Linked DNA regions of Homo sapiens: region 2 is linked to region 1. Evidence: promoter capture Hi-C in 16 types of primary human blood cells and fetal thymus (Javierre and others, 2016). All regions are on one chromosome and are shown on one strand. The core of a region is centred on a gene start or on the middle of the fragment in contact, and the rest is flanking DNA. Distances in the headings are between cores, read along the strand shown. Region 1 holds the start of NR2C1 (nuclear receptor subfamily 2 group C member 1). Region 2 has its middle 18 kb from the start of MIR5700.

The links. The method cuts DNA at HindIII sites, captures the fragments that hold promoters and counts their contacts. A CHiCAGO score of 5 or more calls a contact.
Region 2: a fragment that was not itself captured here is called in contact with the fragment with the promoter of NR2C1 in region 1 in 1 of 17 cell types (endothelial precursors); the score reaches 5.1 in endothelial precursors.

What each region holds. Positions count from the first base shown.
Region 1 is chr12:95,071,421-95,075,931 of GRCh38, forward strand. It overlaps NR2C1 (nuclear receptor subfamily 2 group C member 1), which reads right to left and starts at 2,198. Exons shown (of 14, transcript NM_003297.4): 1 at 1,960-2,198. RefSeq lists a silencer at 1,616-1,895 and enhancers at 1,785-2,285, 1,976-2,295. The HindIII fragment of the contact is 1,017 bases long and covers 1,625-2,641 here.
Region 2 is chr12:94,541,939-94,546,449 of GRCh38, forward strand. No RefSeq gene overlaps it. Among named protein-coding and RNA genes, the nearest start is that of MIR5700, 18 kb to the right of the region's middle. The HindIII fragment of the contact is 5,199 bases long and covers 1-4,511 here.

The DNA of each region.
Region 1 (4,511 bases), core at 948-3,447:
CGGCAACGAATTATATTTATACTATTATTTATTGTATGCTGTTTTGTTTTTATTCCCCAAGAGTAGGGATTATACATTGTGTGGCAGACACACAGACGGTGTGTGTTTGGGGATGTTTGCTCCCTCAAAATCCTTCCTTAAGATGCGGTGCCTGTAATTCCAGCTACTCAACAGGCTGAGGCAGGAGGATAGCTTGAGGCCAGAGATCTGTCTGGATAACAAAATGAGGCCCCCCACCATTTCTATAAAACAAAACAAAAAAACCTTTCCTAGAAGAAACTAACATGCCCCTTGAAAAACTAAGATTAGCAACATTTCATAAAACCCACTTTTTTTTTTTTTTTTGAGACGGAGTTTCGCTCTTCTTGCCCAGGCTGGAGTGCAATGGCGCGATCTCAGCTCACTGCAACCTCCGCCTCCCGGGTTCAAGCAATTCTCCTGCCTCGGCCTCCGGAGTTGCTGGGATTACAGGTGTGCGCCACCACGCCCGACTAATTTTGTATTTTTAGTAGAAACGGGGTTTCTCCATGTTGGTCAGGCTGGTCTCGAACTCCCGACTTCAGATGATCCGCCCACCTCAGCCTCCCAAAGTGCTGGGATTACAGGTGTGAGCCACCGCGCCCAGCCGCGACCCACTTTTAATGATAGAAATACACATCGCTTTTTCAGATATACTAACTGGACTTAAAGCAAAGTTTAAAAACAATCATCGGCCGGGCGCGGTGGCTCACGCCTGTAATCCCAGTACTTTGGGAGGCCGAGGCGGGTGGATCAGAGGCGGGTACATCACGAGGTCAGAGTATCAAGACCATCCTGGCCAACATAGTGAAACCCCACCTCTACTAAAAATACAAAAAACAAAAACAAAAACAAAAACAAAAAAACTAGCTGGGTGTGGTGGCTCGTGTCTGTAATCCCAGCTACTCGGGAGGCTGAGACAGGAGAATCGCTTGAACCTGGAGGCGGAGGTTGCAGTGAGCCGAGATCGCGCCACCGCACTCCAGCTTGGCGACAGTGAGACTCCCTCTCCCTCTCAAAAAAAAAAAAAAAAAAAGAAAAAAAAATCGAGTATCACCAACCACACAGCAGAAATGGTTCAAAAAAGCTCAAAATCGAAGGTCCATTTACAAATTCTAGCGGTACTAAACCCTAAAGGCCGTAATTTTAGGTCTTTCTGCTTTTGCTTTCCGGTTACTTTTTTAAAGGCTGACCTACTTACTGAAGATTATGGGACAACCTGGCAACATTCGTACTGCACAAAAATGGTATCTGCCCGAGTTGGAAGAATTATTTCTTAACAAAAGAGCTATCTATCGGAAGCTTGGACATGCCCCCTGCAGTGAGAACCCTGGGGCCGTTCCATTTCTTCTGAAAAGATCCAGGCCCACAGGCAGCGACGACCCTGGCCAGATTTGCCGTGAGAGAAAAGTGAAAGTGGGGGGAGTCATTCTGTCCGTCCCGTGAAAGCACGGGAGTTAGTGACGGGATGCAGGCCGGGACTTGCGGCCACTAGCCGAGGGTCGGCCTCTCCCACGTCTCACTCGTGCCGGCGTTAGCCGTGCGCCCTGGAAGCCCCGGCGCTGCGCGCGGCTCTCCCGGGCGGGGAAAGCTGCAGCGCCGCGGAAGCTTTCCCTGCAGGTTAAAGGTCAGAGGCGCTGCGGTAAGCGCAGCTGGAAAGGGGGTTGTGTGCTCCAAGCCGCTCGCCGTCCGGCCCCGCGTCCCGCCGCCCCTGTCGCCCCCGCCTCTCCCGGGGCCCCGCGCATTTGGCGCCGCAGCTCCGCGCTCCCAGCCGAAGTCGAGCAGCCCCAAGCGGCGCTCCCAAACTGAACGGCTCCGCTGGCCGCAGGACGCCGGCCGGGGGATGCGCTGGGACCGCGTCCGTTGGCGGTTGGGGTGAAGGGCACCCCCTGGCCCCCGCCCCCGACGCGGTCGCTGGTGTCCCCACCCAGCGTTTCTTACCGGCGCTTTTGCGCCCTGCTGACTCCGGCGTCGGGCGCCGACGCGACAGTCCCGCGGCTGCCACTCGTGGATTGGGGGGCGCTCCGGGAAGAGAGGTTGAAGAAAGCCGACGGGATGTGGGATCGAGATTCACGGCGGAGAGAGCTTTCTGTGTTTGGGTATTTCTGGGGGGTCAGAGTTCGTGACCTCTTTCTCGGCTCGGCGGCGCGCTATCCCGCCAGCGCCTGCGCATTAGCAACGGGGAGAAGCGGCGAGAGGAGGTCGTGACGTTCCCAGGGTGGGGTGGAGGGATCGGAGGGCCGAGCAGCGGCTCTGTGAGTCCACTGCCCCCTTTTGGCTTGGAGGCAGAGTGCCCCGCCAGAGCTACGCGTTCCCAGCCAGGTAATTTTTGAAGCCACGTGCAAAGGTTTAAGCATCGTTTGCCAAAGGTGGGCATTAGGGGAGGTTTTGAGTCAACGTTTTAGATTTGAGTAATAAATAACCCTCTGGGTCTTAGGCATATCTGTTTCTAATTTCTGGAAAACTGGGCTCTGGGGTAGAGTCCAATCATATTTAAACTTTTTTTTTTTTGTATTACACTTTAAGTTCTAGAGTACATGTACACAACGTGCAGGTTCGTTACATATGTATACATGTGCCATGTTGGTGTGCTGCACCCATTAACTCGTCATTTACATTAGTAAGCTTTATATATAATGACAAGCTGAGGCCGACTCATGCAAATGGTAAGGCAAAGTTTCACTTATAAACTGTTGTGAGTAAAGAGACATAATGGCTAAACAGGGCAAGAATATAATCACTAGAGACTGGGCACGGTAGCTCACGCCTGTAATCCCAGCAAGTTGGGAGGCCGAGGCGGACGGATCACTTGAGCCCGGTTGTTTGAGGCCAGCCTGGCCAACATGGCGAAAACCCGTCTCTACAAAAAAATTAGCCAGTCCTGGTGGCGCGTGCCTGTCGTCCCAATTACTTGGAGGCTGAGGTGGGAGGATCACCTGAGTCAAGACGGCAGTGAGCCAAGATCACACCACCGCACTCCAGCCTGGGTGACACAATGAGTCTTTCTCTCTCTCTCTATATATACACACACACATATATATGTATATTCCACATCCTCTCTATAATATATATATTATTATATATTGAGGATTATCCTCAATGGCCGTTTTTTGTCTGTTTTGCTCAGTGATGTATTACCAAGCACATAGGACAATGCCTGCTATTCAATAATGATGTATGAAATGAAAGCCAGGCAAGTGGCTGCTGGGAGGCCAAGGAAAGATCACTTGGGGCCAGCAGTTGGAGACCGGCTTGGGCAAGATAACAAAACCCTGCCTCCACAAAAAAAATTTTTCAAATTGTGAAATGAAGAGACATTGGTGGAACATCGCATTCTGACAGTGGCCACCTGTAGTGGCAAGGTGTGGCAGGAATAACTGCCCTGTGTGCAAAGTACTCTGCGCTTTAGATTTTGAAGCATTCTTGAAATTTCTAGTTTTTTTTTAAATCTCCTTTGTTTTGTCATGAAATTTCTATTTTATCTAGCTTAGGTCGGCACTGTAGGAAAGCAGCCACAAACTCAGGGCAGAAATCCAAGGAAGGAAAAACAAACGTTTGCTGGGAATGAGAACATCTCTGTTATTTCTCTCTGGAACTAGGCAGACGGACAGAGATCAAGGCATGAAACAATCCCTAACAAGTAAAAATATGCTTTATCCCTCATTAAAAATCCACCTCTGCTGAGCACAGTGGCTTCTGCCCCCAGAGCCTTGGGAGGCTGAGGTAGGAGGCTTGCTTGATGCCAGGAGTTTGAGACCAGCCTGGGCAACATAGTGAGACTCCATCTCTTAAAAAAAAAAGAAAAAAAAAAGGCATGGTGGTGCAGGCCTGTATTCCTAGTTACTGAGGAGGCTGAGGTGGGAGGATTGCTTAAGCCCAGGAGTCTGGTCCAGTGTTGGCACCATTGCATTCCAGCCTGGGCGAGAGTGAAACTTTTTTTTTTTTCCAACCTCTACCTTTTAGCATTATTTGTTGTGTATTTGGTTTGGTTTTAAGGGAGACCCCTGCCAATACCATAAGCTGGTCCCAAAGGTGAAAATTATGAAAGTATAGTCACGTCAGGGATATGTTCTGAGAAATGAGTCCTTAGGCAATTTCATTTTACTCTCATCATAGAGCGTACTTATACAAACCTAGATGGTCTAGCCTAGACACACCTAGGCTGTATGTTGTAGTCTGTTGCTCTTAAGTCACAAACCTAGGACAAACCCGTACAGCATGTTACTGAATACTGTAGGCAGTTGTAACATAATGGTAGGTATTTGTGTATCTAAATATATATAAACATAGAAAAAGTAAACTAAGTCCTTTTAAAAAAAAAGTGCAGTAAAAATAGGGGATTATAATCTTATGCAACCATTATTGTATATGTGGTCTGTCCTTGACTGAAATATTGTTATGCAGTGCATGACTGCACTATAGGCCTAATGGATACAGGCAATCTGAGACCTCTTCACTATTCTTGGTGGAGAATATGTATGCCTATAGTGATG
Region 2 (4,511 bases), core at 809-3,308, 530 kb before region 1:
ATCTTGAGGCTGGGCGTGTTGGCTCATGCTTGTAATCCCAGCACTTTGGAAGGCTGAGGCAGGCAGATCACCTGAGGTTGGGAGCTTGAGACCAACCTGACCAATGTGGAGAAACTCCATCTCTTCTAAAAATATAAAATTAGCCAGGCATGGTGGGTAATTTTGTGCCTACAGGCTAATTACACACCTGTAATCCCAGCTACTCAGAAAGCTGAGGCAGGAGAATCACTTGAACCCAGGAAGTGGAGGTTACAGTGAGCCAAAATCACGCCATTGTACTCCAGCCTGGGTAACAAGAGGGAAACTCCGTCTCAAAAAAAAAAAAAAAATCTTGAAATGGGCAGATGATCCTGGATTATCTGGGTGGGCTTAATATAATCACAAGGATCCTGACAAAAAAGAGGCAGGAGGCCAGGCGTGGTGATGTGCACCTATAGTCCCAGAGCTTTGGGAGGCCAAGGCAAGAGGATCGCTGGAGCCCAGCAGTTCCAGGCTGCAGTAGGTTATAATCACACCACTGTACTCCAGCCTGGATGACAGGGTGAGACCCTGTCTCTGTTCAAAAAACAAAAAGACAGAAGAAAGTCAGAGACAGAGGAGACATAAAGATGAATGTGAAGGTCAGATCATGTGGGGCCATGAGCCAAGGAACATGGGCAGCCTCTATAAACTGGAAAAGGCAAAGCGCTAGATCCCTCCTGCAGCCTCCAGAAGGATTGTAGCTCTGCCAGTGCTTCATTTTAGAACTTCCAGAACTGGAAAAAAATGAATTTGTGTTGTTAAAACCAATACATTTGTGGCAATTTGTTATAATAGCAACAAGAAATGGATACAGGTGCTAAGAAGATAGCAAAATGCATGCCCACTGTACCTTCTCTCTCCTCCTTCCTGGTCCTATCTATCTGTTATGGGCTGAATTGTGTCCTTCCAAAATTCACATGTTGAAGTCCTAACCTCCAGTACTTGGGAATATGATACTGTTTGGAGATAGAGTCTTTAAAGAGGTGATTAAGGTAAAATGAGGTCATAGAGGTGAGCCCTAATTCAATATGACTGGTATCCTTGTAAGAACAGGAGATTAGGATGCAGACAGGTACAGGCGAAGACCATGTGAGGCCACAGCAAGAAGGTGGCCCCCAACAAGCCAAGGAGAGAGCCCTCCAAAGAAATCAACCTGCCGACACTGATCTCAAACTTCTAACCTGCAGAATTGTGAGAAAATCAATTTCTGTTGTTTAAGCCAGCTAGTCTGTGGTGTTCCTTATGGCAACCCTAGCAAACTAATACATGATCCTTCAAGGCAGAGGTGAAAATCTGCCTCCTTTCTCAAACTGCCTTTGATCAGCCTGCTCCCAGAGCAGCCATTGTCTCAGAATACCTAGTGGCCAAGAGTTTAACCCAAGGATCACAAACTCAAATGCCTATAGGGGCCAGGAAGAACTAACATGAGTGAAGTGCTTGACTATAAGAAACTGTATTTGCCAATTGATATGGTTTGGATCCGTGTCCCTACCCAAACCTCATGTTCAATTGTAATCCCCAGAGTTGGAGGTGGGGCCTGGTGGGAGGTGATTGGATTATAGGGGTGGATCCTTCACGAAGGGTTTAGTACCAACCCTTGGGTGCTGTTCTCGTGATAGAGTTCTCATGAGAATTGGTTATTCTCAACAGGTTATTTACTGGTTGTGTAACCAGTTACATGAGAACTGGCTAGCACTTACCCACCTCTCTCTCTTGCTCCTTCTCCCACCATGAGATGCCTCACTCCGCCCCCTTCATCTTCTGCCATGATTGTAAGTTCCCTGAGGCCTCCCAGGAGCTGATGCCGTCATGCTTCCTGTACAGCCTGCAGAACCATGATCCAGTTAAACCTCTTTTTAAAATAAAAATAAATTACCCAGTCTCAGGTATTTCTTTACAGCAGTGTGAGAATGGACTAATCTACCAATTAAACATAATCAGTATACACTATCACAAAAATGACATTCACTCCCTATCTCCCTGTCTGCTTTTAGTTTTGCCACATTTTATCAAGGATGAATACAAGGAAAATCCTCTCTTCCTGACCGTTCAGTGGGGAAAAGTGGCAGTGCTGGGGTGAGAGGCACCTGCTTTTATTTTTTGTGTTAAGGAACCTACAGGAGAGGTGCGAGCTGAGCTGGAAATTGCAGGCCCTGCCCTGTGCCAAGGGGCAGTTGCTACTTAGCTCTAGCCAACTGTTACCAGGGACAAGGACAGGCCAGACCAGCCAGAGTTTTCCAATTTTTCAAAAAAACTGAAAATATACATTTTTAAAGTGAAATTTGATTTTAAGACATTGATAACTAATTTTTTAAAAATTAACTGTGTTGGCCACCTCACATCCATTACAACGGCTACTAGTAAAAAACAAAACCAAACAAAAACAAAATAGAAAATAAGTGTTGGTGAGGATGTAGAGAAATTGGAGCGCTGTTGGTGGGAATGGAAAACGGTGCAGCTGCTGTAGAAAACAGTATGGCAGTTCCTCAAACATTTAAAAATAGAATTAGCATATGATCCAGCAATTCCACTTCTGGGTATATACTCAAAAGAACTGAAAGCAGAGTCTTGAAGATATATTTGTACACCCATATTCATAGCAGCATTATTCATGAGAGCTAAAATGCGGATGCAACCCAAGTGTCCATTGACAAATGAATAGATAAGCAAAATGTGACACACATATATATATATCACATGATGGAATATTATTTAGCCTTACGAGGAGGGAAATGCTGATATATGCAACACAGATGAATCCTCAGGACATTCTGCTAAATGAAATAAGTCAGTAATAGAAGGATAAATTACTGTTCGATTCCATTCGTATGAGCTGCAATACTTAGTCAAAACCACAGAGACAGTGAAATGGTGGTTGCCAGGAAGTGGGTGGGGGGCAAGAATGGGGAATTAGTGATTAATGGGTACAAAGTTTCAGATTCGCAAGATGAAAAAAGTTCTAGGCTGGGTGCAGTGGCTCACGCCTGTAATCCCAGCACTTTGGGAGGCCGAGGTGGGTAGATCACCTGAGGTCAGGAGTTTGAGACCAGCCTGGCCAACATGGTGAAACCTCATGTCCACTAAAAATACAAAAAATTATCTGGGCACAGTGGCAGGTGCCTGTAGTCCCAGCTACTTGGGAGGCTGAGACAGGAGAATCGCTTGAACCTGGGAGGCGGAGGTTGCAGTGAGCCGAGATCGCGCCACTGCACTCCAGCCTGGGTGACAGAGTGAGACTCCATCTTAAAAAAAAAAAAAAATTATGAAAAAAGTTCTGGAGGTAGACGGTGGGGATGGCTGCACACCAATATGAATGTACTTAGTGCCACTGAATTTCACACTTAAAAATGGTTGAAATAGTAAATTTAATGTTATATGTATTTTACCAGAATTTTAAAAATTGGAAAATGACAACTGAGCTGGCTAAGATTGTTATTTTGAAACAAGACACATTTTTTAAGGCCTAGCTTCAGCTCATAGTCCACCAGTTTGCAACCTCTGTTTTAACACTTCCTTGTTTTCTAGTCATTTCATGTGTTCATGTCTTACCCAACTAGAAGGTAAAATTCCCTGGAAGTAGGAACTGTGTCTTAACCTTCTTTGGTATCTTTCAAAGTGGGTACTTGGAGCTTTGCAGTGGGCAAATCACAGTTGCCCTGCTGAATACTGGATGATACCCACACACTCATAACTAATTATTAGACACTGCCATGCTGTACACAGAGCTGTGGCCACATGGGATTAATTGTAACATTTCAAGAATAAGAAGAGAGCTTTTGAAGTACAAAAAGAAATTCATTCTGACTAGCAGGTGGGGATGGTGTGTCAGGAGAGACGAGGGTGAAGAGGGCAGGGAGACGGGAAAGGGGCCTTATAGGCCACAAGAAGGGGAAATGGGAAATTGCCACAGGCTGTAAGCAGAGGGTGACGAGATTGGATTGGATTTTGAGATAAATCATAAAAACTAGAGCCTGGAACGCCCCTGCTAAGAGATTCAGGAAAATGGTAAATGCCGCTTGGCAACAGCTCTCCAGGGCCACATGTGAACACAAACACACTTGTTTGTGTTCAGCGAATGAGGAGGTTGGGGACATAGGGAAGAACTAGGGGAACTCGGGGGGCTTCAACAAGAGGAGTGAGGCAAATGCACACCCCCTTCAGAGCAGGGGCTGTGTGCGCACGTGTGTATGTTGCGTGTGTGCAGTTAGAGTGGGGGTGATTCTTAGGTGGGTCTAGGCAAGCTGACACCCTAAGTTGCAGACCATGGGCAGCAGATGGAGGCGACGCTAAAGTCCAGCCATCAGACCCTCCGTGCTCCCCTGGAACACCTGTAGGAAACCCTGAGAACTCCAACTTTAAAGGGATCCAAGACACTGTAGCCAGCACAGTAACCCGTGGCAACCCCTAGAGGTTGCTATAACCTCAGCAATGGGGAGCGTTATACCGAAGGAACCTGCCGGTTCCCCAGACACAAAAATGGCTGAACCTTG